Regions from separate parts of the Homo sapiens genome. Here region 1 is linked to region 2. The links are contacts of gene promoters, found by promoter capture Hi-C in blood cells and fetal thymus (Javierre and others, 2016). All regions are on one chromosome and are shown on one strand. The core of a region is centred on a gene start or on the middle of the fragment in contact, and the rest is flanking DNA. Distances in the headings are between cores, read along the strand shown. Region 1 holds the start of C8orf58 (chromosome 8 open reading frame 58). Region 2 holds the start of PPP3CC (protein phosphatase 3 catalytic subunit gamma).

What was found. Contacts are between HindIII fragments. The CHiCAGO score rates a contact against its expected background, and 5 or more counts as called.
Region 1: a contact is called between the fragment with the promoter of C8orf58 here and the fragment with the promoter of PPP3CC in region 2, in 16 of 17 cell types (naive CD4 T cells, total CD8 T cells, non-activated CD4 T cells and 13 more). The highest score is 25.7, in naive CD4 T cells.

What each region holds. Positions count from the first base shown.
Region 1 is chr8:22,598,118-22,602,510 of GRCh38, forward strand. C8orf58 (chromosome 8 open reading frame 58) reads left to right here and starts at 1,482. Exons shown (of 7, transcript NM_001013842.3): 1 at 1,482-1,643; 2 at 2,765-3,240; 3 at 3,595-3,735; 4 at 3,855-3,963; 5 at 4,083-4,195. The coding sequence starts at 1,604. RefSeq lists enhancers at 1-480, 3,169-4,046 and silencers at 867-926, 1,292-1,391, 1,422-1,881. The HindIII fragment of the contact is 7,578 bases long and covers 1-4,031 here.
Region 2 is chr8:22,437,974-22,442,475 of GRCh38, forward strand. It overlaps PPP3CC (protein phosphatase 3 catalytic subunit gamma), which reads left to right and starts at 3,105. Exons shown (of 14, transcript NM_005605.5): 1 at 3,105-3,485. The coding sequence starts at 3,437. RefSeq lists silencers at 2,688-2,877, 2,968-3,627. The HindIII fragment of the contact is 13,070 bases long and covers 1-4,502 here.

The sequences.
Region 1 (4,393 bases), core at 232-2,731, 160 kb after region 2:
TTACCCCTCCCGGTAAACAGCCACTTCCTTCCAGTGGCTCTGGCTCCAGCCTCTCCCCTCCCCTAGAGGTCCAGGTGCTAGTCTGCACGTCCTCCAGCTCCCTTATCTGCCTCCGGGGGATTTGGGTCCTGCTGGGATTTTTCCAGCCCTGCCCCCTCCCTCTGGAGGAGGTGCCTTCTTTAGAGGACACCAGCCCCAGTCTGGTCACCAGGCTCTCTCTCATCTTCAGTAGCTTCTTGGGCTCCTTTTAGGTTGGGGACTGAGGGGTGGAATCCCACGGGCCAAAGGCAGGGTGAGGTGGGAACAGGGGGACATTTACACTTTGGCCCAGTCTCCAGGCGGCTCCCCGCTGGCTCGCATCTTTCCAGACCTTGAGACCTACCCAGTCCCCAGCTTTAGGGAGCCCGGGATGAGAAAGAGGCAGGGGACCGGGAGGGGGTTCAGATCTAGCTGAGGACACACGCGCGTTCTGCAGTTGTAAAAGATTTCCCGGTGGGCAGGATCGTTTCCCCTCCCATCGCCCAGGTTTCCGAGCGGCCAAGAGACTGGCCCCCAAGCCACACTGCTAGGGAGCGCCGGGTGCCCGCGTCCTGGTCAGCGCTCTTCCCACCGCCAGCACGTGGGGCTCCCATTTCCTTCCTGGCTCTTGTCCGGTCCTCCAGCCAGCCCCGGCTCTAAGTCCGCGGCAGGAAGACGGACGCTGCGTGTGAACCCGCGGGGCCGGGCGGACCGGCGCCCCGAGCCAGACGGCGTCCCCAGGCGGGGGCCGGGTCCTCGCAGAACAGCTGATCGGGACCCTTATTTTGGCCACAGCCACAGTTGGGGGCGCCACCCAGTCCGTGCCTTCGACCTCGTTCTTGGCGACCCGGCCACCTGCGCCCCCCACCTGGCACCCTTGCCTTCCCTCCTCTCGCCCCTCCCCTCCCTCCTCTCGCCCCTCCCCTCTCCTCTCCCCTCCCCTCCCTCTCCTCTCCCCTCCCCTCCCTCTCCTCTCCCCTTTCCCTCTCCCCTCTCCTCTCCTCCCCTCTCCCCTCTCCTTTCCTCCCCTCTCCCCTCTCCCCTCCCTCTCCTCTGCCCACCCTCTCCTCGCCCCTCCCCTCTCCCCTCCCTCTCCCCTCCCCACCCTCTCCTCTCCCCTCCCCTCGCCCTCCTCTTCCTCGCCCCTCCCCTCCCTCTCCTCGCCCCTCCCCTCCCTCTCCTTTCCCCTCCCTCGCCTCGTTCCTCTCATCCCTCGTCTTGCCCCGCCCCTTTCTCCTCGCCCCCTTCTCCTCGCCCCTCCCCCTTCCCCTCGCCCCTCCCCTCCTCTCGCCGCTCCCCTACCTTGCCTCGCCCCTCCCCTCCCTCGTCTCGCCCCTCCCCTCTCTCCTCGCCCCTCCCTTCCTCGTCTCGCTCTTCCTCTCTCCTCCCCCTAGGCCACGCCCCCCACCGCCCCGCCCCCCGCCCCCCCAGCCCCGCTCCCCGCCCCCCCAGCCCCGCTGGGAGTGTCTGGGGGCCGCGCCCAGCTGGGTCGGGACGCGCTCCCTGAGCTGCCCGAGCTCCGCGGGGACTCGGGCCGGGATCCTCGGGCGGCTGCATTGGCCGGGGCCGGGGCCGGGAGCGGGCCATGATGGGCCGGCGGCGCGCCTTCGCCGTGGACGGCCGGGGTGAGTCACCCACCCCCAGGCTGGCCGGGCTCCCCCCTGCCCCGGAGCCGCTTCCCGCCCCCAAGCCGGGCACCCTCTCTCAGTTTCTTGCCCAGCCCCGCGCACCCCGCGGGCGGAGCCCGCGCCGCTGCGCCTCCCTCGCCGCCTCCCTGGAGGGGCGGTCATCAGGGGACGCCATGCAGGCTGGAACCCCTTTGGGCCCAGGCGTTAAACCAGCCACCGCCTCCGCCCCACTTCCTCCGGCTCCGCTTCCCTCGCCTTCCCGCTCCTTCTGAGGATGTGGGAATCCGCCCGCGCCCCAGCCCCCTCCGTGGCTGCGGACCCCTCTCCCACCCAGTGACCTCCTGGCCCACTTCCTTGCCCAGAGGGGCCTGGGTTGGCATTCGGCTCCCGCGTGCCCCGCAGCTCGTCCCCGCCCCCCTAGCCTGTTTCCCGTACCGTTCATTCCGCCAGGACGCCCCGTCGCCAGAGGGCCTGGCGGAGGTGACAGTGAGGGGGTGCTAATGCTGCCCCTTCGTCCCTTTCTTTCACTTCAGTTCTTTCATTTTAAACTTTTCATAAAATCTTCACTATTGCTCACTTACAACAAAAGCCCAAATCGGTTATAGCGGTGATTTTTATCACTCTCCCGGTGAGCTGCAGGAGAGACTTCACCTGGCATCCTGATGCCGCAGGGGCCCCCAGAGAGCAGGTTGGATCCCAGGCTTTCCTCTCTGTACCCTCTCCCCTCTCCCTGAAGCTGGATACAGTCCTACTCCCGCTTGGGGAGCAGCGGAAGAGCCTGTGGCTCCCTACTTCTGACTCGGGAGATCGTGGGCTGATCCTAGGTGGGAAGCGCAGGCGCAGGCCGTCTAAGGGATTGATGGATGTGGCCTGCCAGGGCTTTGCCTACCACACAGCTCAGAGCACGGGTTCCCTGTCGCTAACAACCGTTGCGAAGGGAATCCCATCCACACATCTCCCAGACAGCTGGGGCCATATCCGGGCTGCCCGTGGCTGTCCAGTGACCGCCCTTCCTCACTGCTCCGGGACACTTCTCCCTGGGGCAGTGCTGCCAGCCTTCAGGAATGCTGGGGGTGTTGGGGGTGGCCTGCCCAGCCTGACGCTGACTCTCCATGCAGATGGGGCTGGCGAGGGCCTGGCACGGGGCTGCATAGTGCCTGGAGTCACCAGCACCTACAGACGGATCCCCGACGCTGCCCACGGGTGCTCATCCTGGGAGAGAGGTGACAAGTTCAGAGGTGTCGGCAGGGAGGCACTCTTTCTCAAACTGGCCTCCCGGGACTCAGGAGTGGAGATGGCAGTTGGGGACAGCCCCCTGGCCGCCTTACCGGGCCTTTCTCAGGACTCCCTGGACTTTGAATCCTCAGGGAGTTCTGAGCCCCCCGCCCAGGTAGGCCGACTCCTGGCCAGCCAGAAGCTGGGGGAGGTGTTGGAGCGGTCCCGCCGGCTCCCAACAGCTCCCACCAGCTTGTCAGGACAACACCGCTCCCTGCGGCTGGCAAGCAAGCCTGAGCGTGAAGTGCCCCTTGGAGCAGGGCAACAGGAGTCCATGGAGGCAGACACAGACCTAGAGGCAGGCCTGGAAGAAGAGGCGGTGAGTGCTCACTCTCAGGCTGGGTTTAAGAGTGGGATGGACAGCCTAGCTCCTCTGGTTCTCCCTGGAGCTCTCTCTGGGTGGGGCACTCCCTGCCCCTAATTGATGGGTTGTGTCATAGGTTCTTTCTGCACCCCAGTTCCATTTGTGCACGGCCACCTCTGCAGAGGAGGTGGGCAGCTACGGGGGCCCTTCCTGGCACTATGCCCCGCTGGGCAGTGGGGAAGCCGGCTGCGTGTGTTCCTCCTCGGGGCCCACTCTGCTCCCATCTGCTGGCTGAGCCCAGCCTGGCTGCTTAGGGTAGGGCAGGAGCCCTACTGGCTGAAATCTCCCCTATCTCACAATGTCCCACAGGTGGGGGGCCTGGGGCCTGGAGCCTGGGCCTGCCTCCCCGGGCAGGGTCTTCGCTATCTGGAACACCTGTGCCTGGTGCTGGAGCAGATGGCAAGGCTCCAGCAGCTCTACCTGCAGCTGCGGATCCAGAGGCCCCCAGGGGTGAGTGAGATTCGAGTGGGGGAGGGAGAGGACAGATGGGACCCTGGGAACCATGGCTGCCCTCAGAGCAGCTTCAGCCCTCTAGCCAGGCCCTGATCACCTGTCTCTCCTGTGCATAGGATCCCGGCGAGGAGGAGTCGACCCGAGCCCCTTTACCGTCCCCGTTACACACCCCAGGCAATCGGGGGCAGGGGCCATGGGAGCTGCTAAGCCAGACAGAGCACACAGGTGAGGGGCCATCGTGTCTCCCTTTGTCCTGCCTGCCTGGGGTCCCACCAGCAGGTCCTCTGAGCCGAAGCTTGATGGGGTGTCTTCTGGCCCTGGCCAACCTGACTGTCTTTCTGAAGGAGCAAAGGCTGCTTCACCCCCAAAGGTGGAGGTGCCCAGTGCCAACCCTCCCAGGCTGCCAGAAACCCCAGTGGAGCCAACGTACCACTTGCCATCCTCCCAGGGACACAAGGTAGGGGACAGGTATATGTGGGGCAGGTGGTGGGCTGGGGTGGGGGGAGGGGAGGTGGGGGATGCATGGGCACCCTGGGGGCCAGCAACTCTGGGGAAATGACAGGATTGATTCCTGTTTGGAGCAGGCGACTTGTCCTGGCTGTGGCGACAGCTGTCTCTGGGAGCTTGGTCGGGGGTCTGAGTGTGGGGAGGGCTC
Region 2 (4,502 bases), core at 1,855-4,354:
CCCATCTCTACTAAAAATACTAAAAATACAAAAAAATTAGCTGGGTGTGGTGGCATGCGACTGTAGTCCCAGCTACTTGGGAGGCTGAGGAAGGAGAATCACTTGAACCCAGGAGGTGGAGTTTGCAGTGAGCTGAGATCACGCCACTGCTCTCCAGCCTGGTGACAGAGCGAGACTCCGTCTCAAAAAAAAAAAAAAAAAAAAGTGGGGGTGGGGACACGAAGGGACAGGGCTGCAAGTTGCTCACAATTACTTTGCTAAAGCCAAGCTACAGAATGACATCTGGATTCTGTAAATTCATGTATACCATGCTTGAGGACTCATGCCGCATATTCCACGTGGTGCTATAGAAAAAGTTCGTGGTGCTATAGAAAAAGTTCAGGTACTGCACGTCTCTTGACGATGATGGTGTTCACTAAGCCTCCTACCAGCTCTGTGACTTTGGGCAAGTTTCTTCACATCTCTGTGCCTCAGTTTCCTTATCTGTAAAATGGGGATAATCATATAAATGGGGTTGGTGTGAGGATTGAACGAGTTAGTATTTGTGGGGTTTTTTGGTTTTGTGTTTGAGATAGATGGAGTCTGTCTCTGTGCCCAGGCTGGAATGCGGTGGCACCATCTTGGCTCTCTGCAACCTCCGCCTCCCGGGTTCGAGCGATTCTCCTGCCTCAGCGTCCCGAGTAGCTGGGACTACAGGCGTCCACCACCACGCCCAGCTAATTTTTGTATTTTTAGCAGAGATGAGTTTTTGCCACGTTGGCCAGGCTGGTCTCAAACTCGTGACCTCAGGTGATTCGCCCACCTCAGCCTTCCAAAGTGCTGGGATTACAGGCATTAGCCACTGTGCCCGGCCTGCAACGTTTTCTTTTTCTTTTTTTCTTTTTGGAGACAGTCTCGCTCTGTCACCCAGGCTGGAGTGCCGGGGCGTAATCTTGGCTCACTGGAACCTCCGCCTCCCGGATTCAAGCGATTCTCCTCCCTCAGCCTCTCGAGTAGCTGGGATTACAGGCATGTGCCACCACGCTAGGCTAATTTTTGTATTTTTAGTAGAGACGGGGTTTCACCACGTTGGCCAGGCTGTTTTCAAACCCCTGACTTCAGGTGATCCGCCTGCCTTGGCCTCCCAAAGTGCTGGGATTACAGGCGTGAGCCACCTTGCCCGGCCCGCAATGTTTTTTCTTTCTTTCCTTCTTTCTTTCTTTATTTTATTTTTTTTTTGAGACGGAGTCTCGCTCTATTGCCCAGGCTGGAGTGGTGCAGTGGCGCGATCTCGGCTCACTGCAAGCTCCGCCTCCCGGGTTCACGCCATTCTCCTGCCTTAGTCTTCCAAGTAGCTAGGACTACAGGCGCCTGCCACCACGCCCGGCTAATTTTTTGTATTTTTAGTAGAGACGGGGTTGCACCGTGTTAGCCAGGATGGCCTCGATCTCCTGACCTCGTGATCCACCCACCTCGGCCTCCCAAAGTGCTGGGATTACAGGCGTGAGCCACCCCACCCGGTCTTTTTTTTTTTCTTTTTTGCCGGCCCGCAATGTTTTCTTAAACTTTTTATTTTTAGCTATCCTGTTGAGGTTCTTCCAGATGAATTTTAGCCTCTGACCCAGGGGTATGATTTGATAGGCGTGGAGTTCTGGTTACTTCTTAAATGAAGAGTTTCCCCAGGATATCTGAACAATTCTCTTGGGTGGAAGACTCAAGGATCATGAAAACGAAAACCAAATTCTAGTCGGCTCCTAAAGTCCTTTTGCCTCCTGCGGTTACCATCAAAGAGCTATGGTCAAAATTCCAAGGGATAATTCAGGGTCTGATTCCACTATATATCCCCAGACCGCCTATACATAAATCCATATTATTGGAGATTTACGCTTAATCCTATAATCTTTTACCTAACAGCTGTCCAGTAGAATTTTCTGGATGTCCAATAAGGTAGCCGCGTGTAGCTCTTGAACACTTGAAATGTGGCTAGTCCCCTAGAGGAACGGGATTAATTTAAATTTACATAGCTACAACTACTTATCGGTCACTGCGGTAATTGTTAAGACTGGTTTTGCCTGTAACTTGCATATGTTTTATTGGACATCAGTTTCAATATTTCATTTGCATTGCTAAAAGTCAAAATCCTTTTGACTTTGCCAGTTACTCAGTGAGAGGACAGTTGGAGCCAGTTTCTGTTCTAGGCTTACAGTTTTAAGGACAGATAAAGGTTAGTTTTTAACCTCGAGATGAACAGACTGTTAAGTTTCTACGGACTTGCCCATGGGGTTCCACAGTGAGCCTGGGCCGGGGAGGCAGGTACTGTGTCAGGGGGAAGAAAAAAGGGGCTTCTAGCTGGGCAGGTGACACACAGGGCATAGGAAGAGGTCAGTTCTTGTGGCCGAGGAGGTCCGGCCCGGGGGTCCCAGGAGCAGAGATCTCCCTTCTCTTCGATGTGGAAAGTGAGGAGGGAGCAGAGCCTTGCTCAGAAACGGAGCTCCCCCAATCCCCCACCGCCCTAGCTACTGGACTGGAACTAGGATGGACACGAATGTCCTTCTCATTGTACTAACTGCACTCAACAAGCGGGAAAGATGAAGCGAGGGGGTTTAAATGTGTGCGTTTGTTGAATGACCCACAAAAACTGAAGGAGCGCGGCCGGACTGATCACACTCCTTGAGACAAAGCGGGTGGGAGACCCAGAGGTGAGGAGGGTGGTCGCCTGTGGGCGAGGACTGGGAGGCCAGGGGTTCTCGGCGAGGCGGTCCCAGGAGGCGGCGCGGAGCCGCTGCGAGGCCGCAGGGCCGGGTCGCAAGATGGCCGGGCCGGCCTCCCGCGCGGGTCGCGCGGGCCACGCGGGCGGGTTTCAGATGTTCCGGGCCCGGGTAGGGGCTGGCAGGAGAGAAGGGGCCGGCTGCGGGGAGGGCTGGCTGAGAAGAAGCGAAAATGGGCGGTTAGCAGCAGGGACCCGGAGCCGGAGGAGCCGAGAGCAGCGCGTGCGCCGAGCTCTACTGCCTCGCGGGAAGGCGGAAGGGTGGGGAGGGCGGCGCTCGGGGCGGGAGGCCCGGCCGGGTCCGCTAGGACAGCGGGGCCGCTGGGAAGTTGTGAGAGCGGCGCTCGGGGGCGCGCTTGCGTGCACGAGGGCCCGGGCCGCGAGCAGCCGCGGCCGTCCCGGTCGCCACCCTTAGCAGCGGTCGCGGTCGGTGCCGAAGCGGTGTTCCCCGCCTTAGCCGCTGGCGCCTCCCAAGAGAGCGGCCGGTGGGCCCTCGTCCTGTCAGTGGCGTCGGAGGCCGGCGCTGCGGTGGCCGCGCCCTTCTGGTGCTCGGACACCGCTGAGGAGCCGGGGCCGGGCACGGCTGGCTGACGGCTCCGGGCAGCTAAGGCTGCCCGAGGAGAAGGCGGCGGCCGCGGCGTAGGCGCACGTCCGGCGGGCTCCTGGAGCCTGGAGGAGGCCGAGGGGACCATGTCCGGGAGGCGCTTCCACCTCTCCACCACCGACCGCGTCATCAAAGGTGCCTGGCGGGCCGGGCCTTCCTCTGGGACCCGCGGGAAACGGCCTTCGGCTGGGCGGCGGCTCGGGGCGGAGGGAGGCTGGGGCCGGGCTGCGCCCACCCTAGGAGGGCTCGGAGGGGTGTAGACAGAGCCGGGCGGCAGCCTCCGAGAGCAGCCACCCGGACCCGGCGTTTTCTGCTGCACCTGGTCAGGTGCCTGGCCGTCAGTGCCAAGTTCCCTCCCGAAGGGTTCAGGGTGCAGTGGGGACTTCTTCTCCCACCGCCCCGAAGGGCCCGGATCCCTGTCTTTTTTTCTCTTTAAGAAACGACTCGGGGGAAGCCATCGGGGGTGGTGTGAGCAGGGAGTCGACTCTTCCAAGTAAGATATTTAAGATTAGATCTTTCTTGACGTCCGCCCCCCACCCTTTTTTAGGACGTATACCATGTGCCTTTTGACCCGCTTTCTCTAGATCATTGCAAGTCACTGCTATTACTGGAATAAACTTAGTATGAACAAGTCAGATAAATCCATTATATGATGTTTAAAATAAGTTTACGGAGCTCTTGACAGGGTAATGGTATTTTATTTTCCCTTTGGTTATAAAGACTTGGAGAATGACGTTTTCTGATTCATATGTGTACCTGCGTTAGATTTCTGTTGTTGTTATAAGAACAAAATGTAAAGGGCTCTTTGCTCTCTAAATCTTGTAGAGTTTTAGGTTATAGTTGTTTCTCCCTTTAAACTAAGAAGATGGATTACACATAACCACTAATTTATGTGCTGCTTTTATTCAGCCGTAAGTCTTAGGCACAACCCTTCTCTCTGAGATTAACAATCGGTTTGAAAGCGCTATTTTGTAAGAAGGGAATAGACTTAGACCAGCTGTGTTAGTGGCCTCTGGATGCAGGGGTTAGCGTGACAGTGGGGAAAATTATTAAGATACTTTTCTTCTTTTTCATTTTGGTATTAGAAGGAGAAAGGCAACTAATACTAGTGACGGGAATACATTTTTAAAAGGTGAAACGCCTTATTGCATG